Regions from separate parts of the Homo sapiens genome. Here all the other regions are linked to region 1. Evidence: promoter capture Hi-C in 16 types of primary human blood cells and fetal thymus (Javierre and others, 2016). All regions are on one chromosome and are shown on one strand. Each heading gives the region's core, a stretch centred on a gene start or on the middle of the fragment in contact. The rest is flanking DNA. Distances are from core to core; before and after follow the strand shown.

Evidence for each region. The method cuts DNA at HindIII sites, captures the fragments that hold promoters and counts their contacts. A CHiCAGO score of 5 or more calls a contact.
Region 2: a contact is called between a fragment that was not itself captured here and the fragment with the promoter of GARS1 in region 1, in 1 of 17 cell types (naive B cells). The highest score is 6.0, in naive B cells.
Region 3: a fragment that was not itself captured here is called in contact with the fragment with the promoter of GARS1 in region 1 in 1 of 17 cell types (neutrophils); the score reaches 6.7 in neutrophils.
Region 4: a fragment that was not itself captured here is called in contact with the fragment with the promoter of GARS1 in region 1 in 4 of 17 cell types (naive B cells, monocytes, total B cells and 1 more); the score reaches 7.8 in naive B cells.
Region 5: a fragment that was not itself captured here is called in contact with the fragment with the promoter of GARS1 in region 1 in 5 of 17 cell types (fetal thymus, monocytes, neutrophils and 2 more); the score reaches 12.0 in fetal thymus.
Region 6: a fragment that was not itself captured here is called in contact with the fragment with the promoter of GARS1 in region 1 in 6 of 17 cell types (total B cells, activated CD4 T cells, naive B cells and 3 more); the score reaches 8.9 in total B cells.
Region 7: a fragment that was not itself captured here is called in contact with the fragment with the promoter of GARS1 in region 1 in 12 of 17 cell types (non-activated CD4 T cells, naive CD4 T cells, activated CD4 T cells and 9 more); the score reaches 18.4 in non-activated CD4 T cells.

What each region holds. Positions count from the first base shown.
Region 1 is chr7:30,592,959-30,597,008 of GRCh38, forward strand. It overlaps GARS1 (glycyl-tRNA synthetase 1), which reads left to right and starts at 1,920. Exons shown (of 17, transcript NM_002047.4): 1 at 1,920-2,185. The coding sequence starts at 1,964. RefSeq lists enhancers at 1,375-1,988, 1,619-1,968, 1,989-2,602, 2,603-3,216 and a silencer at 3,112-3,211. The HindIII fragment of the contact is 4,590 bases long and covers 1-4,050 here.
Region 2 is chr7:29,879,908-29,883,957 of GRCh38, forward strand. It overlaps WIPF3 (WAS/WASL interacting protein family member 3), which reads left to right. Exons shown (of 9, transcript NM_001080529.3): 5 at 3,943-4,050. Among named protein-coding and RNA genes, the nearest start is that of WIPF3, 75 kb to the left of the region's middle. RefSeq lists an enhancer at 3,325-4,050. The HindIII fragment of the contact is 5,877 bases long and covers 1-4,050 here.
Region 3 is chr7:29,923,720-29,927,769 of GRCh38, forward strand. SCRN1 (secernin 1) reads right to left here. Exons shown (of 8, transcript NM_014766.5): 7 at 2,733-2,913; 8 at 1-396. The coding sequence ends at 238. Among named protein-coding and RNA genes, the nearest start is that of FKBP14-AS1, 63 kb to the right of the region's middle. The HindIII fragment of the contact is 1,401 bases long and covers 1,120-2,520 here.
Region 4 is chr7:29,950,749-29,954,798 of GRCh38, forward strand. All of the region lies in intron 3 of SCRN1 (secernin 1), which reads right to left. Among named protein-coding and RNA genes, the nearest start is that of FKBP14-AS1, 36 kb to the right of the region's middle. The HindIII fragment of the contact is 1,600 bases long and covers 948-2,547 here.
Region 5 is chr7:29,974,988-29,979,037 of GRCh38, forward strand. The region is part of intron 1 of SCRN1 (secernin 1); the gene reads right to left. Among named protein-coding and RNA genes, the nearest start is that of FKBP14-AS1, 12 kb to the right of the region's middle. The HindIII fragment of the contact is 921 bases long and covers 1,713-2,633 here.
Region 6 is chr7:30,009,991-30,014,040 of GRCh38, forward strand. It overlaps FKBP14 (FKBP prolyl isomerase 14), which reads right to left. Exons shown (of 4, transcript NM_017946.4): 4 at 597-4,050. The region is part of intron 2 of FKBP14-AS1 (FKBP14 antisense RNA 1); the gene reads left to right. Among named protein-coding and RNA genes, the nearest start is that of FKBP14, 15 kb to the right of the region's middle. The HindIII fragment of the contact is 2,945 bases long and covers 883-3,827 here.
Region 7 is chr7:30,029,386-30,033,435 of GRCh38, forward strand. All of the region lies in intron 1 of PLEKHA8 (pleckstrin homology domain containing A8), which reads left to right. Among named protein-coding and RNA genes, the nearest start is that of PLEKHA8, 3.0 kb to the left of the region's middle. The HindIII fragment of the contact is 441 bases long and covers 1,496-1,936 here.

The sequences.
Region 1 (4,050 bases), core at 670-3,169:
AAAACTGTTTGGGAAATTCTTCCAAGGGCCATGAAGAGCCTACTGAAGTGTCCTGAGAAGAGAAGGGACACAGTCAGATTTGCCTTTCAGAAATAATGACTGGGCCGAGTGCAGTGGCTCACACCTGTAATCCCAGCACTTTGGAAGGCTGAGGCGGGCGGATCACGAGGTCAGGAGTTCGAGACCAGCATGACCAACATGGTGAAACCTCGTCTCTACTAAAAATAAAAAAATTAGCTGGGTGTGGTGGCGCACGCCTGTAATCCCAGCTACTCAGGAGGCTGAGGCAGGAGAATCGCCTGAACCCGGGAGGCGGAGGTTGCAGTGAGCCAAGATCACGCCACTGCACTCCAGCCTGGGTGAAAGAGCGAGACTCCGTCTGGAAAAAAAAAGAAAAAGAAAAAAGAAAGAAAGAATGACTGAAGCAGCAGTGGGGAGGATGAATTGGTCGGGGAGGAGGGAAGAACGGATTTGGAGTCCTTTCAGGACTGTCCTAACATGAAAATGGATGAGACATTATTGATCTAAGGAATTTTTTAGAAATAAAATAGTTTTATTCAAAGGATATAGAATTTCAACATTTTAATAAAAATCTAAATAAAAATAAAAGTAAAACTTAAAATGATTTTTCACATTTAAAGATATTAAAATAAATTCAAAATTGCCTAGTAAAATAAAAGCCAAATAAATTATAATTAATATCAAATCTTGAAATAAAAGTGTTTAAAAATATAATTGTTCAATATTGCAGAAGGTTCTTAAGCAACCCACCCTGCTCATGTTGAATTGTAAGTACTTCTCCAGAACTGCACACTGGAACGGGAAGAGAAATAACATGGACTTTCACACCATTAGGAAAGGAGACTTCATTATACTGAGCCCGTCTACTCCTGCACACTCCTGGGGTGGGATTGTGGGTCACAGGGAGACGTACGTGCATACTGCCGAAGAGCTCCCAAGTGGCTGGCTGCACCAGTTAACACTCCCCTGAGCAGTGTAGGGGAGTCTCAGAGGGTCACTTGGCATTTTCCATCATTTTCATTTTAGCCATTTTTGCAGGTGTGCGCAATGCTGTTTTTATAACCAACACATCATTTTTCTCTTCCTTTCCTGGAGGGGGAACCCAGCTTTTCTAGGCCCTCCACCCTTTGGGCAGGAGGAACTGGGTGTGTGGGGCGGGGGGAAGCCATCTCTGGGTGGTTGGTCAGCTGGGGCCTAACCACAGGAGGCAGATAGACTGAGGCTATGCCAAGCAGAAAGACTTATCAGGCACCTCTTGCCTTTCCTCATCTCTGCCGGTTCAAATCCTGCTCGCCCCGCAAGGGCAGATTGGAATTTACCTTCTCCAGAAAGCCTGGGGTGACTCTATCCCCTCACTCCTCCTCCCCCGTTCGCCAGCTTTTGTCTTGACATCGGCGGACCAAGAATGTGTGACTCTGGGCAAATCATTAACCTCTCTGGGCCTATTTCCTTATCTGGGGAACATCTGCACTTGAGCAACAGAAGTCTAAGATCCCTATCTGATTTGATGTTTTGCGACCCTTTTAAGGCGCAGGGCGCGAAAGAACAGAAACAGAAGTGTCCGTTCAAGTAGGTCGGCCGGGGTGTCACTCGTATAAAAACCTATGCTTTGAAGGTTCTCGTGTGTCTCGGCCTGCAGGTCTCGCTCAGAGCTGTGTCCCTGAACATCCACCCTGCTGGGGTGGCTTGACGCACTTCTGTGCAAATCTGTTCGCTCGCAACCCTACCTACCTCTCTCCCGAACCGGAGAAAACCTTCGGCGGGGTCCTTCCGGGTTTTGTGTCGAATCTGCGGCGGCGACCCGGCGCCGCGTCACGCGGTGGTGAATGTGCGGCAGCACGCGCGCCGCGTCGTTTACGCGGCGATTTCATCATGCTCCGAGCCGGGCGGCGCGCGCCGCTTCCGTCGCCACCCTCTCTGGACAGCCCAGGGCCGCAGGCTCATGCCCTCTCCGCGTCCAGTGCTGCTTAGAGGTGCTCGCGCCGCTCTGCTGCTGCTGCTGCCGCCCCGGCTCTTAGCCCGACCCTCGCTCCTGCTCCGCCGGTCCCTCAGCGCGGCCTCCTGCCCCCCGATCTCCTTGCCCGCCGCCGCCTCCCGGAGCAGCATGGACGGCGCGGGGGCTGAGGAGGTGCTGGCACCTCTGAGGCTAGCAGTGCGCCAGCAGGTACCGGTGTTTTGCGCTCTCCGCTAAGCCTCCGGCTCTCCTCCCAGGGCCTTCTTCTGGTCATCCTTCCCTCCTCCCCGGGGAACTGTCCTCCTCTTCGGTTACCCCTTTCTTTCCCTTCATCCTCTGGCGTCTTCTTCGCCTCCCCCACTTTGGTCCCAAGTCCCCCGTGCGTCAGCCACCTCCTCTCCCGCGGACCTCCGTCCTCCTCTCTTTTTGGATGACTCCCTGGAACCCCTCCGACTTCCTGCGTCCCTCTCCGGCTCCGTTCTCCCTTCCCCATTCTGTCACAGCCCGCGTCTCCTCTATTTCCAGTGGGGCTGGGATCTGTGACCCTTTGGTTGTCCTCGCCTCCTAACTGAATAACCTTAACTTCAGTTTTCCAGGCTCTGCTGTACTCTTTGTGCACCCTGGGTGGAAAGCCTCCTAATTCTTTCAGTGGTCAATGATGAGCCGAAAAACTGCCGGTTCTTTCGTCTTACGGCCAGGCCCTTTAATCTTTAGGATGCTTTGATAGTGTTTCCCCCTTAACATCTTCCTTCATTCAGTGCTTAGTTTAGCGGAATGATTGGCTGAGAAAATAGAATTGAAATGTGGATGTGGGGAGGTGTCGAACTTTTCTATTAATGCTGTGAACTCATCATCCTTTGCTCTTGTCATCTTTTCTGGCTTCTGAAAAGGCCGTTTGGAACCAGTGAGCCCTCAGATCGTAAACCTGGGAAACTAAGTGTTGCGGAGTGAAGTCAGCCATCCTTAGTATGGAATATTTTGACATTTGATTTTCCCGAAGGTGAGGGAAGGTTTCATGGGCTGAAGGACTTGGTGATTTAATATAGACCTCCTTTTCCTAGGGCACTGCCATAGAGTTTAGAATTTAGAGATATCAAGGAAAAGATTATTTCAGATGATTCCCATATGCAATTAGGGAGAGCCAGAGCTTGCAGTAGGACCCCGGAGATCATGACTTAGTAGTAAACACCAAACGGGTTTCTCCTGCATGGGCGCCTGATGCAATAATTTGCCTTAGCTACAGAGGGTGGAACCCTATCTCGGAAATAATTCATTGGGGCATAGCTGCCGCAAATTCAGCCACTTTGCCATCTGTCCTCTTCGCTGGTTTGAGCCTGACCGATTTTAATAAATAGCCTTTCATTTTGAAATATCACCACGGGCTTAACTTTTTTCTTCATGATTGGTGTCAGAACACCGATTGCATATTCTGTCTCCCTCCACCCACCTTCCACTCCACAAATAAAATTAGGTGTGGTTCCTTTGTCTTTTCTTAACTTGCCATTTTAAAAAATATCCTTCCCTTTAGAAGGAAGCATACAACTAATTTGGAGAAAAAAAAAAACCACCACACCCAAACCCCTCCCTCTGCCACGTTAGCCTGGAACTGCAGTGAAAATCATCCATCGGTAGTTAAGACAGGATCTAGTTAACTAAAGTAAACTTTGATCGCGGCAGCTTTCCGATGCTACTAACTACTGTCTTGTGTATTGTTTATGTTGTCTTGATTATTGTTTTGTACTTTAAGATATTTTCCGAATATACGAGTTAGTTGATTTAAGTTAGTTTGGATATTTTTTTCTAATTTTCCAAGAACACACATATATCAGTTAGTTAATTGTGTGAATTACTGAGTCCTATGTCAGCTGAAAAATAATTTAAAGATGATCTAATTTTACCCATTTTTTGTATATGGGGAAATGAGACACACTGTCACCCCTATCCATTTTGGATAACTCCATTGTGAAGTGCAATTGAAAACCTTTCCGGAGTGGGATTTTTACTTAATGACTGGTCTTGTTAGTAGCACATGTTTCATAGAAATTTGTTAATCTGGAAAATGAATGAAGTGAGTT
Region 2 (4,050 bases), core at 1,357-3,856, 710 kb before region 1:
GAAGTATCACTTCCTACCACATTCTCTTAGCCAAAACAAGTCACAAGGATGGGGAAATAGACTTCGCCTCTTGATGAGAGGAACTGTAAAATCATATTTCAAAGATTATGGAATCAAGCATAAGTGGGTAATGAAGGCCATGTCTGTAATCAGTCTACCTCAGTGATTTTTGTTTCAGTGGGCATCAGATGTTTTGAAAATATTGCATTAAAATTGAACAAATACAAATTTACTCTGAGAAAAAAAACCTGTTTTTCCTATTCTTGTTCTCTTTAACCAGCAAGCTGAATAAACTCCAGGAATACCATTAATACAGGAGGAAATACAAAGGCCCAAACCTTCCTCGTACCAGATCTTCCATCATGCGACTTTTCTAACTTTTTCAGTGGCTTCTGTGACTGTTTAATGTTATGGGATGATTATGCTGCCTCACTCACCAATAAAAGTCCAGCAAAGAAAAAGACTCTAGGATATTTTGAGATCCAACTTGAACCTTCTCAGGGGCCATGTTCATTTCCTCATTTTTGCTGAGGGGTTAGCAGGAAAGGTAGAGTACAAGGTCTTCCTCAATAAAGACAGTGGATATTCTTCAGTGTCCTCTTCTTTTTCAAAATTCCCGAGTGCTATCAAACAAATATCCTTTGGAATAGAAGGCTTCCACCAGTTTCTCTTCATAGAAGATGGGAGAAATGGGCCCCAGTCAGGTTTTCATAGGAAGCAGCCAAAAATAGCCAGCAGGAGTCCTACTGGTCTGCTTGTCACCAGTGGGACATAAGTGTCAGATGTTTGAGCCGCTGTAATGGGGAAGACAAGAATTTATCTCTTTAGAGATGGAGGTCCATAAGGAAGTGACTAATGATGCCTGTTCCAGGATGGAAACTCAAGGAGAAAGCCACCAGATAAACACATGGACTGGGTACCATGTCAGGGCAAGGCAGGCCGTGGCTCCCTGCTCCCAGCACTTTCCCAACAGCCCCCTTCTCATCAGAGGAAGGGACTTGAGCCTTTGCTCCCTCTCTGATCTTCTGGCCTACCTTTCTTGGTGGTTCATGCCATCCCCTCCACTCACACTATCCTCCTTGCTGCTCTCACACACCAGCATGTTGCTGCCACTGGGCGCTTGCACCGACTCTCCCTTGGCCTGAAAGGCTCATCCGCAGGTGTCCACGTGGCTCAGTCTCTCCCTTCCTGCAGGTCTCTGCTCAGGTGGCAGCTGATCAAAGTGTCCGTGAGGTCTTCACTTATTATCCCATATAAAGGTTTAGTCCTATCCTTTCATTCCATATCTCCTTTTCCTCAATTTACTTTTCTTGTATTACTCGGCACCACCTGACATATCATGTATTCACTGGTTTATCTGTTTATTGTCTGTCTGATCCATCTGAAGCTAAGCTCCGTGAAGGCAGGGACTATGTTTTGTTCATTGCCATAGAAATGCCTGGCGCATGGCAGGTGCTCAGTAAATACTTGCTGAATTGCATGTGTGAATGGTAGTGTGGTGGCTGACATTCATTAGGGACCATAGCACAGTGTCATGGGCTCATGGTACTTTTAGGGACCCATGAAAATATTTAAATTTCTTTTAAAATCAGAAGAAAACATATGACCTTTTAGGATCAAAGAATGTATTTGTCTTTGTACCAATGCAGTCATGAATATAAATATTTTTTTAATAGAGAAGAGGCCCACAAAGGCAAAAGTGCCTAGGGACCCTGGAGTCATAATGCAACCTTGGCCTAGAGCTCTAAGGGAGTGAGAATTACAATAAGATATGATGAGTAAACATTATTTCTGGGTTGAATAGAATATGTAATGAGACTTCCAAGGTCTTCTGGAGAACATTCAGATTTGAGGAAGAAGAAATATTTCATCTTTTGCTAAACCTGCATGTTCTAAAAGCTGAATCCTTTCCTATGGGCACAGCATCCCTGATGCCCTCAATCTGGCCTTTCCCGCCACCTCCTGGCCTCCTTTGTGTTTTCTCTGGATTTCTAGGGCTCGGGTTTCCATTGTGAAGGACAGCCTCCTCCCTTACTTCCTTCAACTCCCTCGGAGCTCTCTGTCGGCCCAGGCCTGCCTCCTCCACTTGCCTGCACTTACACCATCAGCCCCTTTCTCCTCTGCAGTCTCACCTTCCTCCCTGAGGGGCATGCCCGCCCTCGCTTCTGCTGCGCATGTTAGGATAAAAATGAGTTTGCCCACATTTCTCATTTGGTTGGTGGCTTCATCAACACAGGATCCCCTACTTTTAACTGACTCACTTTAAGGGTTTTTGAATCTCTGAGACATGGTGTCCTCAGTTACTTAAAAGGTTTGGATAGGCTATTTAAGGGTAGGCTTTGCTCTGTTTTGTAAACTTTCATTATCCCTTTCAATTTCATTCAGCCACTGGGCATGTAGGTAGGCTCTGCCTTGTTTAGGCAGCTGCCTAGGTTCTCCTCGTCATCTTTTTGTATTATATGGAAAAAGGTTTGAGAACTTCTAGGCAGGAATCCCTGAGCTGACACCTGCTAATACCATCCTCACCCTACCTTAAGAACAGCCATTCCATAATGTGGTTGGAATATTATGGTCTAGGTGACTGTCACATTATAGCCAGAGGGGCTCATATTTGGAAAGCCAGATACCAAGGTCTTGCCTACTTAGCTTCACCTGAGTCACCTCTGCTAGGCCGTGCTTTGATTGGCCTGGCTTTTGACATCCAGTACTTTAAGTGTATGGCTTAGCCCCTGATTGGGGTAAACACACAGGAGACTCAAGTACTGCAAATCTCAGAACCCCCAACAGATGCTGGGATTTCTAATCTGAAATGAAAGCTGCAGGTCCCATGCTGCAGCACCCAGGAAGTAGTGGGTGTGAGAAAACATCATTTTTCAAGTGTTGTCCACATGTTGTCATGGTGATTATAAAATATAGGGGAAAACACCCCCCAGAATTCTTATAAAAAGAGCACTAAATCTGGAAGAAATATTTTAATCTGCCTCCTGAGTAGACAGTGATACTCCAAGGACATCTCTAAGCAGTAATTGCAGAACTTCGAGGCAGTAAACAACGAGAGGAACTTTTTCTTATTAGAGAGAGGCAGAGCGAAAAAAGGGTGAGAACTGGCAAAAAGGTGCAAGGCTGTGCGGAGTATAGAGGCCCCTCCTGGGGACGTGCTCCACCTGAGTCTTCCATGAAAACCAAACGCAAATGCTTATCAAGAGCCAATGGTTGTTGTTGAATTTAAAAGAGGAATTGAATTTCAAGCTGGGGCAGATGCAATGAAGGATCTATAGGATGAGAAAGCCAAAACCCTTGGGAATTAGCATAAGTCTTTGGGAAAGGAGGTTTTGAACTTCCAGAGGTCATAGAACTGTGAGGTTCAAGGTCATTGGACCTGGGTTGTCAAGGGCAAATGTCTCCCTCCAGTCTTACCTTATGTATTCAGGGAATCATGAATTTTCTGCTCTCAACACAGAAACAAAGAAAGTCAAATTTCACAAAATGCTGGGAGTGAAGAAAACCTCCCTAGCCAGGAGTGCTGGTTGGTACACCTGAGGGTCCAAATTAGAGCATAAGGGCTGATGGACCTAGCGGGTGTCAGTGAATGAGTTCGTGAGTGTGGCCTTGATTAGGAAGGGCAAAAGACACCCGGGCAGTCCTGGCCCTGGCTGGGATACTAGAGGCCCAAGGCAGATGACAGCACAGGTGGCATGGATAGGAGGGCTGGAGGCCTGACCTGGGCTTGTCATTAATGCTGGCAAGGACTTTGGATCTGGTCCAGTTGGTCCTTCTGGGTGACAGCTGTGGCACCTGAGGCCTCTCAGTGGACACGTGCAGAAAAAGCGGTCTACAGTGCAGCTCACTGCGGGCAGGCTTGAGTGTCCTGAGTGCCGCCTACCTGCGGGGGCTTTCTCCTTCTTTATTGCCGAGCTAACCCAGAATCTCTTTCACTTCCAGGTGGCAAGACAGGGCAGGGCCCTGGCTCCCGCGCGCCCTCTCCCAGGCTTCCCAACAAAACCATCAGCGGCCCGCTTATCCCGCCTGCCTCTCCCAGGCTAGGCAATA
Region 3 (4,050 bases), core at 570-3,069, 670 kb before region 1:
ACAACCGAACAACAGGCAACGGGATACATGTTACACTGCACAGGAAGGAGACCTACATTGCAGAAGGGGACGCTGTGAGATTCAAGGTGGAACACAAGGTAACAGTTTGATCTGGCTTCAGAAAAGGAGGCCACATATTAACTTTCTCATTTTACTCAAACAGGAGAGTGGTTTGTTTTGCTGGTAATTTAGTAAGGTGGGAAGTCTTAAATAAGAAGGGGAAAGGGAACGCTTACTTCACTTAAAGAACTTAATCTCCGTGTCAACACAGTCATAGAAAAGGTCCCCCACTTCCGCAGGGTCCAGTGGCTCGGAGCTGGTCAGGATTTCTTCCATGGCTTCCAGGCCTTGCTTCTCCAGCTCCAGCATGGTGCTCCTCAGCTTGCGACCTTGCTCCTGAGGAAGGACACGACTGCTTTAGGTGTCAGCAAAATAGCAGGGGACATTGCAGCGGACACTGAAACCCTCTAGGGGGCCAGCTGGCTTCCTGCTCAAGGTCCTGTCCTCCCCACACTCCGTTTCACACACGACTGCCGCAGGGATTGTTCTAGAATGCCAGTATGATTATGTCACTGCCCGGCTTAGAACACCTGCACAGCTTTCTGCTGCCTTCAGGACAAAGCCCAGACCCCAGAGTGACACTGAGGGAAGGCCCTTCTGACATCCAAGACCACTTCCCCTGCATCTCCCCACTCCTCAGCTGGACTGAATTCACTGTAGCCCTCCAGCCTCTGCTGCTGTCTCGCCCCTGCACAGGTGGCCCTGCCCTCTGGAGGGCCATCCCCTTTCTCAGCGCTTGGTCGACGTGCACCCATCTTCAGCTTCCTTGCAAAGCCTTTCCTCTTCCCCGCACAGTGCCACACCGTTCCCCCTGCCATGGGCGCTGTCTCCCACCTTGTGCTGGCTTGCCTCTGCAGCTGTGGCCCCTTGGATGGGAACTGGGCTCATTTCTATCCTCCAGTGACTGGGAGGGCACTCTCAAAAAATGTTCATTGAATGAAAAAAAAAATGGATCAATGAATAAACAGGTGCCATGTCTCTCCCCTGTTCACTCTTTTTCTGAGATGGTGAGTTCACTTCTTCCATGGGACTCACTCATTTATGGCAGATGACAGTGAAAGCTTTCATTTGCCCCATGAGTCCCAGAACTGAGAAGCTGCTCTCACCACCCGCCCACCACTGCTTCATGCAGCATCATGTGACTCCACCTGAGAGTCATTTGTAAATTTCAAAACCCACCAGCCTCAGCAGCCTCATCTTGAACACACAGCCCTTTCTACCTCTTCATTCTAATGAACCAAATACCCAAAACACCATACACCACACAGCGACAGTTTTCATCTACTTGGGGCTTATGGTCATCCACCAAGAACATAAGCACTATCAGGAACTAATGTGGACAGCCCTGGAGAAAACACAGTTGAATGCAGTGGCAGCATGCATGCTTCCGATTATCTGCCAGCCTTTTTAGGCTGGCAGGGAGGAGAGATGTAAAATAACTGTGCGACCTTTACGTGTCAAATGGTCACTTCTATGGAAGAGAAGGGCAAGCTCTCAGAAAAGTGAGACAGCCCTTCTCAGAGATGCTTTCTGAATTCATCTGGATTTATTGCTTGGATTTTTCTCTTGATATCCTTTTTCTATAGTCCACCATGTCAAATGCAAGAGGCTCACACAGTCCACAGCACCAATTTACACAAAAGGTCCCCCTTTTGGGCCCTTCAGGCCAGTTTGGACCTATTAAAAGTTGTTACATAAATAGTTGGGGAAAACTGATGAGTGTCTAACAAGCACGTTCCTTCTTCCTCTCTTCAGCAAAATATAGGCTTGAATTTATATAAAGTCCATCGGGGTGGCTGCTGTGGACACACTGGGTGCTGTGGAACGTGCTTTGGGTGGTTTTCTTGTTTGAATTGATGACTTATCACTTTATTAACCAAAGGTGTGGGACTGGGGAGAGCTGCACTTTGAAGGATTACGACTTCTTTTTTAAAACTAGGAATATGAGTCTGGGCGCGGTGGCTCCTGCTTGTAATCCCAGCACTTTGGGAGGCAGAAGCAGGTGGATTGCTTGAGCTCAGGAGTTCAAGACCAGCCTGGCCAACAGGGTGAAACCCCGTCTCTACTAAAAATACAAAAAAAAAAAAAAAAAACCCTAGGAATATGAGAATATTTTCTAAAACTATGTTTGTACTATGGTAAAACATATGTATTATAACATAAGATTGACCATTTAAAAACTTTAAAATGTATAGTTCAGTGCATTAAGCTCATTCACAATGTTGTGCAACCAGCACCACCAGCCAACTCCAGAACTTTTTTGAAACAACATATGATTGTATCTTTAATAAAATGTTGCCAGCAAATAACAACTTTTTACCCCCAAAAGTACATAAGGAATTTTACACAATATATAACAGTTATCCCTAACGTACTGCATATTCCTATTATTCCTACGTAAACAGTAAATGTAAGTAAGATACTCAGCCTGCTGAATTCCAAAATAACATGAGAAGCAGAAGCTTTGTCTTATTTGGTTTCAAGAGCCTGGGCAGGAAAATGGACACCAGCCTTCTAGGAAAGGCCCCAGGAACCTGGTCTCTGGGAGAAGCCCGGTCACACTGGATGGGTGGGGGTAGGGTCTAGCTTGACATCTGCTTCCCTGCCTCCTTCCTCGCTGACCTCGCCCGCCCGCCTCCGCCTCCGCCTCTGTGGCCCTCATGCAAGCTCACCTGGTCACTTTCGATGATGGCACGTGCCCACTCGTGGGCTTTGTACAGCTCATGCCGGCGGTCTGGTTTCTCCTGGAACCGAGGCTCCTTTTTGGCAGGGTCGTCATCCCCAAAACAGGGAGACTGTGTTTTGGGGACAAGTTTTACGTCATCAACAAAGATGAAAGGCTTGAATATGGACCTGGAGAGGAAGGAGAGGCACTTCAGCCAGGCAGAGGCTGGGACCCGGGAACACCCAGAGACTGTCCTTTTATTCAGCAAACATTTCCCAAGCCAACTTATGGTGGGTGGTGGGTGTGGGTGACGGGTGGGTGGGTGAGTGCCAAGAGAGACATAACTGCATGTTTTAGTCGCTATTTTAGCAAAACTGCAGCCATTTACAAGCTGCAAATTCCTCTACTTACAGCAAAGAGACATCAAAACAGACTTCCTTTGTTCTGAACCATTTGAGAGGACTCTTTTAGCAATAAAAAGTGAGGCAAACAAACAGTGTTCTGAGAAACGGTGCAAGGAGCCATCTAGCTGAGCGAGAGAGGTTTGCCTTTTTTTTTTTTAATACCGTGGTCTGAGAAGCAGCCTTTGGGAAAGGAAGGGCCTTTTGGTTTGGGTTTGTTTTTAGTTTTTTTCTGAGGTTCTACCTTACTGAAAAATCTATGGAATATCTCTGACAGACCCAAGGAGGGGACAGAGTAAGAAAGATGACAGAAGAGGCCTTGGAGGGTGCACACCACACAGAAGTCTGGTTGTGTGAGAGAGCTAGCACAGGGCACAGCAGGTAGCTAATGCCCCCCAGCTCTCTTCAATTCAGTTCTCTCGGCAGGATGGATGTTATCTTCGGGAAAATGGCTGTGCGTATGCCTGCATGTGTGTGTACTTGTACAAGTCTAGGATACATCACCCCCCCACCCACCCACCCACACACACACACACACACAAGAGCCACGCATATAAACAGCTGTGGCCTGGGATCCCAGGCCAACGGGCTAAGGGACCACTATGGCCAACTGTAACGCCGGGGAGAGAGCCTTATCCTACCCTCCCCACATCCAGAGGAAACACTGCTGGATCAGAGGGCTGCTCCTGGCAGGCATGGGCACCTCTGCGTCCCAAGGATTGCCTGTTTTCAGCTGTACCATGGGGCAGCACCTGCAATAACAGCAGGAGAGAAGGAACTCCCCATATGTGCCCCATATGTATAGGTCAGATTTGTCAGATTTGGACATTTTTTTCTCCTCTCAACAGGTGCACTGTGGCCCACCTCGGGTACCTCAAGTGGGCTAGAGGTGAGCTAGGATGTTGATTCCCTCAGCCCTGGGGC
Region 4 (4,050 bases), core at 498-2,997, 640 kb before region 1:
AGCAGAAGGGAGCTACCCACTACAGGTCTCCTCTCTGCTGAGAGCTGGATACTCGTCAGGATGACCTGCCTGCAGAATGGAGCTACCCACTTTGGGTCCCCTGAGAGCTGTTCTGTCACTCAATGAAGCTCCTCACCACCTTGCTCACTCTCCAGCTGTCCATGTATCTCACTCTTCCTGAACATGGGACAAGAGCTTGGGACCCGCCAAATGGTGGGACTGAAAGAGCTATAACACAAACAGTGCTGAAGCACACCCCCAGCCCCCACCATTTGCAAAATTGCAGGTGATGAAAAGGAGAGAAGAGCTGCAGCCCTTTGGGGAGTCCAGACCTAGGGGCTCCCTGAGCCAGGACTGTGACACTCTCTTTGGGGCTCTGCAGTTCCTGGCATTTCCAAGCTTCCAGGCACCACGTTTCTTGGTGACTGCAGTGGAAGCCATTTGCAGTACGCCTGGTCCAGCTGCAGCCTCGCACAGAGCTAGTGCCTGTGCCAACGCCTAGAGCTGCCCATCCCGCCACAGCTGGCACACCTGGCTGTGTGCAGTGGCTGGACCCCATGCTTGCTCACACACCCCTTTCCTCTCTGCGCCTGGCTTGTGCTTGGAAGGCATGGGATCCAGGCCAGTAGCATAAGCTGAGTACAGTGTGCAGGGCCAAGTGGTGGAACAAGCCCAGCAGCCCGACCAAAACTCAGGCAAAGGTGCCACCAGCCACAGAGGTTTCCGGCTGGAAAAGCAACACCGTAAGGATCGTGTGACACTGGGATTACAGGCATGAGCCACTGCACCTGGCCAAATTCCCACTTTTATGTTAGCTTCTATTGGCTACTCATTACTTGGAACCAACTTCATGAAACATGCAAAAATGTGTACGTGTCTTTATATGCCTCTTCCTCAGGAGAAAGGGACTAGTGGTCAGAGAACAGTGAATCAAAAATAACAGATGAAGCTTAGCTTTGAGATAAATGTCACTGAAAACGCATTATAAAAACAATATTGCCTAATGCTTACATTCCCACAAGCCTCTAGGAAACATACACAAATTATACCTTTATCTTAAAATCAGTGCCTATTACATTGCTACTGTCATTCCCTTATGTCTCTTTGAACTGAGGTTGGATTTCACATGCTGCTGGAAAGTGCAAAGTACCAGGATAAGTATAGGGGCAACTACTGTATTCATTGAATAATCAACCACAGTCTAGCAGGCCCTTGAAAGAGCATGTGAAATGGACATAGCCTGCTCTCATAGAAGCTGTCCAGGGAGGAACTGGCACTAGACACAGAGTGCAAGCAAGGCCAGAGAAAGTAGTGGTTCCTCACACAGCAATACCTAGGGAGGCACTGAGCCCCAAATTAAGAGAATGAAACCAACTGATAGAAAGTTTCCTGTGGAGCAGCGGTTCTCACCGTAACCGTGCATCAGCACCAGCTGGAGAACTTGTTAAAACAGGTTGCTGGCCCCTGGGTGTGAAATAGGGACCGACAATTTACATTTCTAGCAAGTTCCCAGGTGATGCTTGTTCACCAGCCATACTTTGAGAACCACTACTCTAGAACTTGCCACTCAAACTGTGGTTTTTTGACTTGTAGTATCAATATCATCTGGAGCTTCTTAAAAATTAATACTAGAATTAAATCATTAAAAAGGAAATCTGGGGTGGGATGTGGTGGTCCACGCCTGTAATCCCAGCACTCTGAGAGGCTGAGGCAGGCGGATCACTTGAGGTCAGAAGTTCGAGACCAGCCTGGTCAACATGGTGAAACCCCGTCCCTACTAAAAATACAAAAATTAGCTGGGTGTGGTGGCATACACCTGTAATCCCATCTACTCAGGAGGCTGAGGCAGGAGAATCGCTTGAACCTGGGAGGCGGAGGTTGCAATCAGCCGAGATCATACCACTGCACTCCTAGGAAACAGAGCAAGACTTGTCTAAAAAAAAAAAAGAGAGAGAGAGAGAGAATGCTGGGTAATGAGCATGAGTTACTTTTAGGATTTGGTTGGTATGAAATGACCCTTCAAAATCTGGCTATGCTTGGCTGAACTGATCATAGCTGCTTTAAAGATGAACTCAAAAGATCCACTTAAGGTGCAGATGCCTGTGACTCCATCCCCACCCTGAAGAACCTACCAGTGCTCTTCACACCCTTTTTATTACAATAGCTGGACATGGCTAGCCCAAGATGGAGTTAACGTTATATGGTGAAGGTTAAACTCTCACCCTGTCATCTACTCCTGACCTTGCTAATTATCACAATGCCAAGTCTGTGACAAACATATCTTCTGTGTCTACCTCCCTCAGCCTTGCAGCTTCAGGTCAAATGAACCTGCCCCTCAAAGCATTCCCAAATATGACCAGTCTGTGATAATCTGTGAACATCCCGCAGTGTTTGCTGAAGGCCACACCCTGGAATTCTGTGCCATTCACGTGGCATCAAATCTCAGATCACTTTGAGTTACCTCTCTCCTACTATCTTCTTATATTATTCTTAAAATTTCCATTGCTCAATTTTCTTCTTCCTGCAACCAGACTAAAATCCCTTTGAAGCTTTGAGCTGCTTCATGTACCCACAGAGTCTAGAACAAAGTAGATATTCAGTAAACTCCTGTTGCTTTATTGGTTGATAATCTTAAAAAGATATATCAGGTGCTCTGAAGAAAGGCAAAAAATCCTCTTCCACTGTCCCTTAGAAATCAACTGTTAAAATGGTAATTTTGCCTGTTCTATAAGTCTCATACTGCAAATACAGTAAAAAATACTGGAGAGCTGTCAAAACATAAGCTAAAAAAAAAAAAACTTCTTGTTATTCTATACATTTCATTTTGCTAATCAAGAGAAAACTAGCTATATATAACTGGTTTTTAAAAACTGGCTTTTTCTGCCTTTTCCCCAGCTCAGGGAAGCTGCTCCTCCTGAGTTTATAAGAATGAGGAACAGTAAGGAAAGGTAAGGAAGGCAGGAAGTCACTGTGCTACCAAAAGGGTGTCCCTCGCAGACCTCTCCATCAGGTGGCAGAGGAGTGAGTTCCCGAGACCACTGTCTAAATGTGCCATTTCCCCCTACAAAACCAAAATCCAACCCCATTCCTTTTTCTAGGATGTTAGCTTTGGGAGTTCTTCGGAAGTCATCCAATCTAGACCTCATATTGAAAAAATGAGGAAACTGTGGCCCAGAGAGGTGATGTAACTTGGTACATCCACACTGAAAGCCAAGAACTCCAGCTCCCAGCCCAATCTTCTTTCAACTATGTCATGATTTTATTTCATTTCACTATTTCAGGGACAAAAAAAGGCATTTCAGAATGTTGCTTTGTTCCAGCCTACCTTCTACTTTAGTCATTCATTCAAAATTCAGTTATTGATCACTCATTACAGGCCAGGCACACAGTTCCCAGTGCTTATGACACAGCAGTGTACAGACAAAGATCCCTGCCCTATCCAGCTCGCACAGCAGGTTCCTTCTGCTGTGTAGTGGCTGGGAGAGGGGAAAAAGGAAGAAAAAATAACTGAGACATAGAGAGGAAAGGAGGGAAGTGATCTCTGTTCTATTTTTCTTTTCTAGTTTATGATTTTTCATATTTTTATATATATATTATATATTTCAAGTACTATAAAATCCACCCATTTAAACTGTACAGTTCAGTGGTTTTTAGTGTACTCACAAAGTTGTGCAGCCATCACCACAATCTAAGGTTTAGAACATTTTCAACACCCGCAAAAGAAAGCTCATGCCCATTAGGAATCACTCCCCATTCTCTCACCCACACCCAAACCCCAGGCAACCACTAATCTAACTTCCTGCCTCTATGGATTTGCCTATTCTGTATATTTCATATAAATAGAATCACAATATGTGACCTTTTGTGTCTGGCTTCTCTCTCAGTATAATGTTTTCAAGATCATTATGCTTTAGTATGTATCTATACTTGATTCTTTGTTCATTTGTTTTTGATGGAGACTCGTTGTTGTCGCCTCAGCTGGAGTGCAATGACATGATCTCGGCTCACTGCAACCTCCGTCTTCCAGGTTCCAGCAATTCTCCTGTCTCA
Region 5 (4,050 bases), core at 923-3,422, 620 kb before region 1:
GATTCTTAAAAACTGTTAAATTATTCATGCATGACACAAGAAACTGGCTTTAAGATTTTTCTCCTTTTCCTTTATAATCTCATACAACGTTATGAAATGTATATTCTCCTTCACAAAGAAAAAGAAAAAAAGAACCTAAAATTCAATTAACTCTCAATCACATACACGAATATAAAAACTTAGAACATGAGAAAACTTATTTATATTCAGCTTTGAAAAGTAGAATATAAGCATTTGATGATGGGGTTTTCCATCATAACTACATTCTACTTAAACGGGTGTTAAAATCAGTGAACAGAGTTTGTCCAGAAATAAAGCTATAATTGATGGCTTTTTAAAAAACTTCCTTGTTTGAGGCATAATTCTGAAGCTGCTTTCTGAGCCGTGGGGACCCAGAAATGGCGGTGGGGCTTCAGTGTTACACTATAGGCCTGAAACTGGATGTGGGTGTATCCAAAACAGTGTTTTCCTAACTGTATGTTGTGGCCTTTTTGTGGTTTATGAAATCAATTTAGTGGATAGGAACAAGTTTTTTCAGAAAAGCATTTTTAGAAAGCATGTATGCATCTCATACAGTAAGGGTAAGTACTAATGCCAGAAACTCTAATTTTAAGTTTAGGTCCATACACATGCACATATAAGCGTCTATAGGTACTATGTTGAGATGTAACATTTCTTACTGTGAGTCTTAAGGAAAAAACTTAAAAGCAACAGGCTAAAAGGGCAGGTCTGCTGAATAAGGCTTCTTTGTGGCAAATACCCATTAGGATTCTTGCCAGGTTAGCAATACACTGACAGTTCTAATTAATGAAACACTCTAATTTAACTCCCATAGATGGGTAAGCTGACAAGCATTTCCTAAGAAGTCCTTGTTAAGAGTATTTTAAAGTGCATTTATCTGTAGTTTGTACTATACATTTATGTTCTCTGTATTTTCCAACTGATTAGTTTAATGTTGCATGCTATTGGAGGAGAGGAGACATTAAAGACTGGAGTTTAGGATAAGGATGGAAGTTGTAAATGTAAAGGTATCATGTAGCTGGTACATTTTTGTGGTAGAGAAAAGAAGTCAGATTATTCACGTTGGCAGAGTATAAAAAAATATCTGCTACTTTTTCTCCTTGTCCCCCCTCCAATCAGCTCTCAGTGCGAGCCACCAGTTTTCCTTCAGACCAACGCTGTCCAGGAGCATTTTCTGAGATGATAGAAATAGTCTCTATCTGCACCATCCAATACAGTAGCCACCAGCCGGATGGGCTATCTGGTACTTGAAATGTGGCTAGTTCAACGAAGGAACCAAATTTTTAATTAATTTCAAGTTAAACAGCCAATATTAGGCTAAGTGATATAAGCCAGTCACGAAAAAACTTACATAAGGCATCTAGAATAGTAAAACTCATAGAAATAGAAAGTAGAATGGTGGTTGCCAAGGGCTGGGCAGAAGGGAATAAGTTGTTTACAATCTGCGTACAGATTTCAGTTTTGCAAGATGAAAAGGCTCTGGAGATCAGTTGTGCAACAATATGGATGTCCTTAACACTTCTGAACTCTACAGTTAAAAATGGTTAGGATGGTAAATTTTATGCTATGTGCGTTTCACCACAATTAGAAGTAAAAATTAGAAAATTAAAGAGCCACATGTGGCCAGAGGCTACCATATTAGACCATCCAGCTTTAGCTACTGTGCCATTGGCTATGATAAAGCATCCCTAAGCTTAGTTTCTAACCACCACTGTCCTCCTTATCAAACTTCTTTCAGGATTCATGACTTCCTCTTGGGAACAAGATAGTAGTGCTTCCCTGGAGTTTACTGCAAAGGAGCTGCATGTACCAGCATTCATCCTCTGACTGGTGGCAGGAGGCCCAAGTTCAGGCTTGAGGGACTGGAGTACTGTACTCTCGTAACTAGGAGACCACATACAGAATGTGTAGCTGAGGAGGGAGGAAGCTGTGTGGGAGAAAAGGTCTTTGTCCTCAAGTTCAGTGAGTAGTTATTGAAGGCGTGAATGCTCTGAGCCAAGGCAAGGTTTTTTTCTGCATGACTGCCAGACTGCCCTGCACCTTTATCTCAATGATGCACACAGTATCCCTCATCAGTTACCTTACCCATTGAAAAGAAAGCCTTGACTGCCTAAGAGAAAGAAAATAACTGTCTATATAAGCTATCGGTTTATTAAGCGTCTTGCAAGTACCGATGACCAACTGCCTTTACTTACGTAAAGAATGAAACCCAAATGTCCAGCTAGACTTCCCTATTCTCCACACTACCAGCTTTATTGAGCAGACTGAATACATTTAAATTCAATGACTGTGAATTACCACCTTCCAGAAAAGCAAAGGAGAAATTATTATACTCTTCATTAATAAATTCATTTTTAAATGATTGCCATTCCTGCTTAACTGAAAACAGGACAAATGATACTCATTTACAAATTGATTTTTTCTGTTTTAAACCTTCTATTGAAATAGGAATAAATGAAGTGTTTGGGAAAGGAATTAGCTAATTAAAAATTGGGATGTAAATGCCAGCTGATGAAAGTCATCTATATAAATTAGCTCAGACTCATCAAGCTCTGCCCAAAAGAAAGATTTTACTAAGTGTTTCATTGAAAGCTCATGAGAGTAGAGCATAAAGCTTTGGGACTCCACAGCCAGTGAATTCCAGCTCCTAATATTCAATGCCTTGAATGAGGAACCAAGTAATGGAAGAATAACTGTATGGGCTATTAAGTGAGTAAGCAGGCTTTGAAGCCCACCTGGGTTCAAATCTCAGCCCTGTCACTTCTCCAAGCTTTTATAAAAAAGGGATAATGATAGGTAGTTCATTCTTCCCAGGGTTGCAGTGAGATTTAAATGAGATAATGCTTATACCTACTTACAAAGTGCTCAGAATACCATTTGGGACACAGCAAGGACTCAATTATTGTGAGAACAAGAGAAGGATACGTGATGAAAGCGGTCCCTTTGTCAAAGCCTATCTGTTCAGACTTCAGAAACTTTCCTTGAAGTGTCTAAATGCTCTTTCACCTTTTGAAGATTTGCTTCATTGTCACTTCATGTCTTTTAAGAGCTGCTTAACAGTCTCTTTCTCCAATTTCAAAGGCAATATCTACTTCTGACAGTTAACTCTGTGGTCTTCAGTGCCAGTCTGCAGCTGACATACTTCCCAGCAGCGTGGTGTGGAACAGGGGTGACAGACTGCAGATTTGGTTGGTTTGGCCCAGAGTGCTGCATTAGATTGTGTTTTTAGAAATCTGAATTAGCAGCTAATATTTTAAGATCCAGAGATTTCCTATGGACACTCAAATATTTGGCTTCTGCTAAAAACTCAAAGATCTGGCAACACCAAATCCACATTCCCGCATGATGGCAAGACTGGAGTTGGGTAGTGGCTCCTCTCAACAGGGCCTGTATTTCCTATTGTCCCCTCCACTCTCTGACACGGAGGCCAATGAAAGCGCCACCTCTCCTCACCTTTGTGTAATTGCACTCACTGATACCGCCTGCCTAGCCCTGCAGCCCCATGTGTATAGGTACAAGAGAATGACACACTTTAGAGACACCAGGCCCTAGTAGCCATCCTGACTTCTCTAACTCTGAGCCAGAGTTTCCTCATATACAAATGGAATTAACCCCCCATACACAACATCGCATGGTGTTGTGAATGTAACGAAAATATTTTTTAAAAAAAGAAAAGAAAGAGTTGCATGAAAGTAATCTGTTATCCAATTAATTGCAGCTAAAAAGTATGGCCCTGCAATAAGGCGGAGACTCTGGGAGAACCCCATAGCTCAGCCATGGCAAATGAACTAATTTTACCTTTTGGCCACATCTGATTTTGCCTCATTTGCAAGATACAGTCATAATGAGAAATATGAATTAAAGCAAAATGTCTAATTTATTGTCGTGATTCATGTGGCAGATTAGTAACTAGGGAAATATAGAGTTCAACGGAATGTTGTGCTTCAAAACCTACATTTATTCATAGGTAACTAATCATTTTACAAAAGTATTCTTCAAGTCACTTCAGAATTTATCTATAATGCAAAA
Region 6 (4,050 bases), core at 1,105-3,604, 580 kb before region 1:
TGTGTCTCAACAACAACAAAAGAAAAAAAATAGAAAAGAAATATAAGCAATATCCCACACATCATTAATAAAATAAAAACTACAAATTCATTTCCATAAGGAAAGATCCAAATGGCTAGATTCTTCATCTGAATCAGAAATCATTGTTTCTCGTTATTTTCATGGCAACCCCGCATTTCGTTTAATCAGAGGGTATTTTATAGCACTGATTTACGCAGTAGGCATAAATCAGTGTGTCCACCTGCTACACACGATAAAACCCTAAACCAAAACAACAGTGATAATAACCATCACCCTCCCTCCTCCCCCTCGAAAAACCAAAAACACTTTCTTCAGTGCTAAGAATTAACTATTAACTATCATGCTAAAGGTCAAGACTTAATGCATATTTCAAAAGAATTTAAATCAAACCACAGCTTTTCTTACAAATATACCTATACAGAGCAGATAATCAGAGGCACAAAGTGTCACTGTACCCCTCTCCTTCCACTACCTGTCCATCTTCCTCACTTTTGGTATAAAATTTAGAATAACAGGTAAGAAAATCAGTACAACTGCTGAGGAAATTGGTGTTGAAGAATTTTTCACAAAATCAGTTATCTCCCAAATAAACTTTATTTTGAAAAGAATATCACAATATAGTCATGTAAATTTAAATATGGCACACTGAGCAGTATTGACGCAAATTATATAGTCATGTAACCATGTTTCGGTCAATGTACAATATATATATGATGGTGGCCCCACAGATTATAATGGAGTTGAAAAATTCCTGTCACCTGCTAGGGATGTCTTGATCCTGACCCTGCATAGGCCTAGGCTAGTGTGTTTGTCTTGGTTTTTGACCAAAAAGTTTAAAAATTCAAAATTTAAATAGATAAAAGCTTATATAATAAGGATATAAGGAAAATATTTTTGTACAGCTATGCAATGTGTGTTTTAAGCTACGTTATTACTAGAAGAGTCCAAAAATTGTTTTTAAATAAGTTTCTAAACTAGAAAATTTACAGTAAGCTAAGGTTAGTTTTTTATTATTTCTATAAAAATTATAGAATTTTTTTTTTTGAGACAGAGTCTTGCTCCTCTGTCACCCAGACTAGAGTGCAGTGGTTCGATCTTGGCTCACTGCAACCTCCACCTCCTGGATTCAAGCAATTCTCCTGCCTCAGCCTCTCAATTAGCTGGGACTACACGCATGTGCCACCACACCTGGCTAATTATCGTATTTTTAGTAGAGATGGGGTTTAGCCATGTTGGCCCGGCTGGTCCCAAACTCATGACCTCGAGTGATCCACCCACCTTGGCCTCCCATAATGCTGGGATTATAGGCATAAGGCACCATGCCCAACCAGAAGAAAAACATTTTTTATAAATTTTAGTGTCACCTAAGTGTACGGTGTTTATAAAGTCTACAGTAGTGTACAGTAATGTCCTAGGCCTTTACATTCACTCACCACTGACTCATCCAGAGCAACTTCCAGTTCTGTAAGCTCCGTTAGTAAGTGCCCTATACAGGTATACCATATATATATATATACACACACCATATATATATATACTATATATATATATACCATATATATGGTATATATATATATATAGTATATATATATATATATATTTTTTTTTTTAGATGGGGAGTCACTCTGTCACCCAGGCTGGAGTGCAGTGGTATGATCATGGCTCACTGCAGCCTTGACCTTGCCAGGCTCAGGTGATCCTCCAACCTCAGCTTTTGTACTTTTAGCAGAGACGGGGTTTCGCCATGTTGCCCAGGCTGGTCTTGAGCTTCTGGGCTCAAGCAATCCACCTGCTGAGGCAGCCTCCCAAAGTGCTAGGATTACAGGCGTGAACCACTGCACCTGACCAGATTTTTTACAAAATCTTTTATACCATATTGTTATTGTTGTAGTATCTTTTCTGTGTTTAGATGTTTGAATAAACAGACACTTGCCATTGTGTTACAATTGCCTACATGATTCAGAACAGCAACATGCTGTAGCCTAGGAGCAATAGGCTATATACATGTCCTACATGTGTAGCAGGCTACACTATCTAGGTTTGTGTAAGTACACTCTATGATGTTCCCACAACGATGAAATAACCTAATTAGACATTTCTCAGAGTGCATCTCCATCATTAAGTGAGGTATGACTGTACATGTGAAGTCACAGTTCATGTCTGATTATTCCCACTAATAGAAGAGTACAAAGGTACAGTGAAACCAAAAAAAAGAGCAGATAACTTAAAAACCATAACTTGTGCATATGTTTTCATTTTATACTTGTGTCCAAATGTTTAGATGAGAACTGATACAAATTCACAGGTTTTTAAAAATGCTGCCTGAATAATCAAAACTCTTTTTACTTTTCTTGCCCTACTATAGATAGCATCAGTAATGTTTATACAGAGTAGCACCATCGGACAAACTACTTTCCCTTCTCCCATCATAGAGTATAAGGCTGTCTGTATTATGGCTTAAAACATTAGCAATGACTTAATAGTTTTCAACATACAGCTGATTTTGTTGGAGAAAGGTGTTACAGTATAGTCTTGTTAAGAACTTTATGTTTTACTGAGGAAAATGTCAACATATAATCAGTGAAAGTGGTCTACATATGATGTAATAATTGTTCATAATTCTTTTTAAACAACAAATGGGGGTAAATATGAATGAAAGAAGTAAAACACATCTGGAACCTCGCGTTGTTCAGGGTTTTTGAGGCAATTCAGAGCTAACTGCAAGATTATGCTATGAAACTGAAGCCATTTCTATATCATAGTGAGAATTCTAATGTACCAGAAACAGGCAGAAAGCCATCTTCAGAGAATGAAGACTCAAAGATAAACAACGGCACAGCAAACTGAAGAGAGAATTAGACCCCAGGGAAATTTTCACTTTTCATTAGTAGAGGGCAGTAGAAGACACTGAACTTGGGGACTGAATACTGGTTCTGCAGGTTAGTGCTGACCCTGGGCATAACAGTCAATCTTTTTGAATGACAATTTCCTCGTCTATAAATTAGGTACAGTGAGATCCACCAGCTTGTTTTATGACTCAGAGCCATGAAAAGCGAAGATAATAATGCACTTAATATCATTTTGTACACTATAAAGGGCTACTCTTAGAAAATGAAGATTTGATAACTTTAAAAAAAAGAATTAAAGATAAAAGCCAATTTAAAATAAAATTATATATATTTTTTTCTTTTTTAAAATCCAGGATAGGTATTTATTCAATAGTAGCTGCTGTAGGTCTGCTTCTTTTTTTTTTTTTGAGATGGAGTCTTGCTCTGTCACCCAGGCTGGAGTGCAGTGGCACAATCTTGGCTCACTGCAACCTCCGCCTCCCGGGTTCAAGCAAATCTCCTGTCTCAGCCTCCCGAGTAGCTGGGACTACAGGTGTGCACCACCACGCCTGGCTAATTTTTGTATTTTTAGTAGAGACAAGGTTTCACCATGTTGGCCAGGCTGGTCTTGAACTCCTGATCTCAAGTGATCCACCCTCCTTGGCCCCCAAAGTGCTGGGATTACAGGCATGAGCCACCACACCCAGCTAACTTCAGTTTTTGATGAGACAGAAATGGGAAAATGTAGACTGGTTTACTACTTTATCTTATGATACAATGTTATTGTAGTATAATATACTATAGACTACCCATTAAAGAACCAGGAAGGATATTCCGCTAGCCTTAAGAAGTAAATATTGAATATAAATATAACTTTCTACCTCATCTATAACATATTGATACATTTTATTACAAAGAAACTCACACATAAATGATTTGTCCTATTTATCATAATAGGCCACCAATCACTAGGAGCCAAGCTTCATCAGCTTAAGTCCTAGGTAGCATGTCTCAATGCATACATATTTATATGTTATTAACCGTGTTTCTTTTCTTTTTTTCGAGACAGAGTGTCCAGGCTGGAGGTGATCTCGGCTTACCGCAACCTCCGCCTCCGGGTTCAAGTGATTCTGCCGCCTCAGCCTTCCTGGGTAGCTGGGATTACAGGCACGCATCACCACGCCCGGCTACTTTTGTATTT
Region 7 (4,050 bases), core at 466-2,965, 560 kb before region 1:
TTTTACAGACTCAGAAATTACCGTTAAATGAATGCAAATATTTGCAACTTTCTTGCCGTGCCTTACAGATTGGCTTTAAAATAGTCCCCGCCCTTTTTTTCTAGTTTGTGGAGGTAAAAGCTTCATATCTTGAGAAGGTTGTAACTGTTCTACAGCTGTGAAAATTATTCAGAACGATCATTTTTGTCATGTGTGCAACTAGTATTTAATACAAGCCTACTATATGCTGGAAACTGTGCTAGCCACTTTTTTGGAAGTAAACTTTTTATCACAGAAAATGAATTAGGTCTTTAAAATTTTAAAGGCAGTGTGTTTGAAAGCAGAAATGTTCCCAGTATCCCTTAGAGTGGGTGAGAGACGTTTTCTTTCTTTTGTGGGATAGTTTTTAAAAGGTTGTAGTATGGTAATGCGCCGGGTGTTTTAAGAATGGGTGTGTGTGGGAGGATCAGTTGGCATACATAGTAACTTCGAGGAGGTCACACAGCACAGCCAAAGGTGCCCCTATTGGGCGTACCCAGAATCTCTTCCCTTTGCTTAGTGTAATTAGCAGTGAGTTCACCTGTTTATTTTTTTTCTGTAATCATTAATAGAGACTAAATGAGAAGAGGTTTTTCTTGTTTGCGTCAAGGACCTTCAGTGATGTCTGCAATTAGATTAGATGAGAATAACTCAAAGCTAGGCTTTGGTTTGGTGGATGACAGAGGCTGATCAACACTGCTAACCTAAGGGGAGGAGGCTCGACCTGGCAGTTTTCCTTCTGAGGTCTCTCTAAGCTCTCAGATGCATATACTTGAGTAAAATTTAGTTCCTGATCCTTCACTCCTTTCCATTACACACACTTTTTTTCATTCATCTTCAACATTCTTCTTTTTTTCCCATTCTTCCCCATCCCCAACTTTTTTTGTTGTTTTGTGGGGTTTTTTCCCCCTCTTTTCCTTCTCCTTTCTATATAGAAAGTTTAGTCTCTTGATACAGTAACTATTTCCTGGTAGTGAAATGCTTTTGCTGTTGTTGTTGCTGACTGTCCTTGTGTATCCTTCAATAAAGCAGAACTCTCTAGAAGGATCTTTTGGAATCTTTGTTATTTGATTCCTATCTGTTCTGTTGGAAAAGAGTCTACTTTTTTCTTCCCAAAGTAAGAGAAGTTAATGCTGTGAGTGGTGCTAGGGTGGAAACCCTGAAGAAGAGGGCACTGGAGCCATTGCCAGAGACAGCTGTCTCTACGTGATGCTGCTTGTTCCCTTAGCCCACGTGCCCCGTCCTTGTAGGCATACTGTTCATAGAAGCCCATCACACCACTGGGTATTTTCCAGATATACATAGAATGATGGTTCGGCATATTCTCTCCTTTTAGGAGATAAATTTACTTGGGAAAGAAGTGGTAATAGCCTAGGAGGATCACATGCATTCTTGTTTCCTCCACCCTCCACTTTTCTACTTGTTCTTCGGAAGTGAGCATGTTGTGTTAGTGACAAGTTACTTTTTCTTTTTCTGAAGCTTGTTTTAAAAAGTAACTTTTTTTTTCTTGTAGGTTTGCACATACTAACTTTAAAATACATACAATCCCAATCCAAGTTTTTGTTCATTCTGAATTTTTCTCCAAAGGTAGTACGTAACCCATGCCTCTGTATGGTTTGTGTATTTGTCATGCTGACAGCTTGATATGGGATGCCTTGTGTCAAATTTGAGTGAAGTTAGGAAATCAGTTTATCACTTGGTCTTTTGAATCCTTAGGGGATGTTGTTAATTTCATTTACCATCTACTGTGCTAGGCACAGGGGAAGCAATGTTGAACAAAGCCCATGCCCTTCTTGAGCCTACAGTCTGGTGGGGGAAGAAAGATATTTATTGGTTAAGTGGTTAGAACCATGTTTCATTGTGTGTGATTGATTGGGGAGGAGGGAGGGCAGAGAGGCTAGTACGGGTTGTTAGAGAAAGCTTCTTTGAGGAAAAATTTAAGCAGAGTCTGAAGGATAAATCAAGCTGTTAATAGTTCGCTGGAGAGGCCAAGGCAGAGGTGTAGTTAGAGGAAATAAAGAAGAACTTTTCAGGCACAGGGAATGCCAGTGTCAAGGCCCCAAAGCAGAATGGAGACGTGCGAGTTTGAGGAAAGGAAAGAGGACCCATCTGGCTGAGAGCTGAGGAGAGTGAGGCTCCAACAAAGATGCAGGGGTGTGCGGGAGGCTAGATATTTCAGGGCCTCATAGGCTGGTTTAAACACTGTGATGTGATTGTGTGTGTGCATGTGGGTACATGCATGCATGCGTCTGTGAGAGAGAAATGATGAGATTGTTTAAAAGCTTACTCTGGCTTTAGCGTAGCGTAGAACATTTTCTGGTTACATCTTTATATCTCTCCTGCTGCATTTATTGTACTTCACTAAATACTATGTATTATTATTTTGTGAGCTTCTTTTGCCTCTTGAATTTTAAATCGATAGGTATTAATTACTGAAAGTTAGAATTCATCAAGCCCTGATAATAGCGTCTGAGGTTTATGTGAGTGTATTTCTAGAAGAGAAAAGAAGTCTCTTCCCTTAAATGCTAAGCGTATTCAGGTACTCTATCCTCCTTCAATGAAAAATACAAAAAAAAAAAAGTTTACATGTATTTTCGTTTACAGTCTGGTTTCATCCTGCCTTTTGGACATTCCGGGATTTAGTGCCAGTACCTTTCTTTAGATGTTAGAAGATTAAACTTGGGATGAAGAGAGTAAATTAAAAACATGTTACAGATTCCCACATTGTGTGAGACATACTTCTAAAGAAGCACTGTGTTTGTTATTTGTGTCTTTCAAGACCTAAAATTTAGTCAAGGAGTATTATACATGTAGGGCTACACATTAATACTCTAGAACGCTGGTTCAGGAGTCAGAGAGACCTGAAGCCTGGCAAACAGCCCTATTACTGCCAACTGCAGGGTCACTTTAGCATCCTGAGCCTTAGTATCTTCCTCCATTTAAAATAATGGGATTTACTAGTTTATAATTGTAAGAACTGTTAAAAATTTATTAGTACTTACAATGTGCCAAGCACTTTTCTAAACATTTTACATGGATTAACTCAGTCTTTGCAGCAATTTCAAAAAACAGTTGCCTTTATTATGCCCATTTTCCAGATGAAGACACTGAGATATAGAGACGTGGGTTTGCTGAAGGTCACACAGCCACTTATTAAGTGGCTTCAGAGTCAGTGCTCCATTAGACAATACTTTTAAAGGTCCTTCTTGCTTGATCATTATGTAATTCTAGCTGATTCATAATGTACCTATATTTAAAGTATGTTTGACCTAGAATAGCAGACTATTTCGGGGGTGGGAAGTGGGGAGGAATTCAGAAGTGAAGAAAGCTTTGACTGCCCAATGTTGTGCATATGTTTTGCCACGAGGAAATTTTCTAACCTGTGCTTTCTACTTTGTAGTTTTAGGTCCTTTTCCTGCCCACTCAGCTGATAGGAGGGCTGCTGTTGTGAACTCCAGCCAGCCGAAGGCTGCTTGTGCCTCTCCAGCAGGTTAAAGCTCAAGCACATTGCATTACTGCATTCTGAAAATAACAAAAGCCTGCATCATACTGGCCAGATGGTTTTCATTAAGGATGTGCTATAATTTTGTTTCCCCTCAGGTGGAGGAAGGTGACTCTTGCCCTATATACTATATATACTAGTGCTGTGTAAACAGTACCAGGAAGACATCTGGAGTATGAGGATTCTTGGTTTCACAACCACTGGTCAACCCTTTTTGTTGTTGTTAACATTTTAACATCTTTATGGAGATAATTCATAAACCATAAAATTCATCCATTTAAAATGTACAAGTCAGTGATTTTAGTATATATAAAAAGTGTAACTATTACCATGATCAATTTTAGAACATTTTCATTATCCCAGAAAGAAACCCAGTACCCATTAGCAGTCACTCCTACACCTACACCTGCCCTTCACTGTTGGCAACCACTAATCTGTCTGCACAGATTTGCCTCTTCTAGGCAGTTTATATAAATGGAATTATATAATATGTGGTCTTTTGTGGCTGGCTGCTTTCCCGTAGCATAATG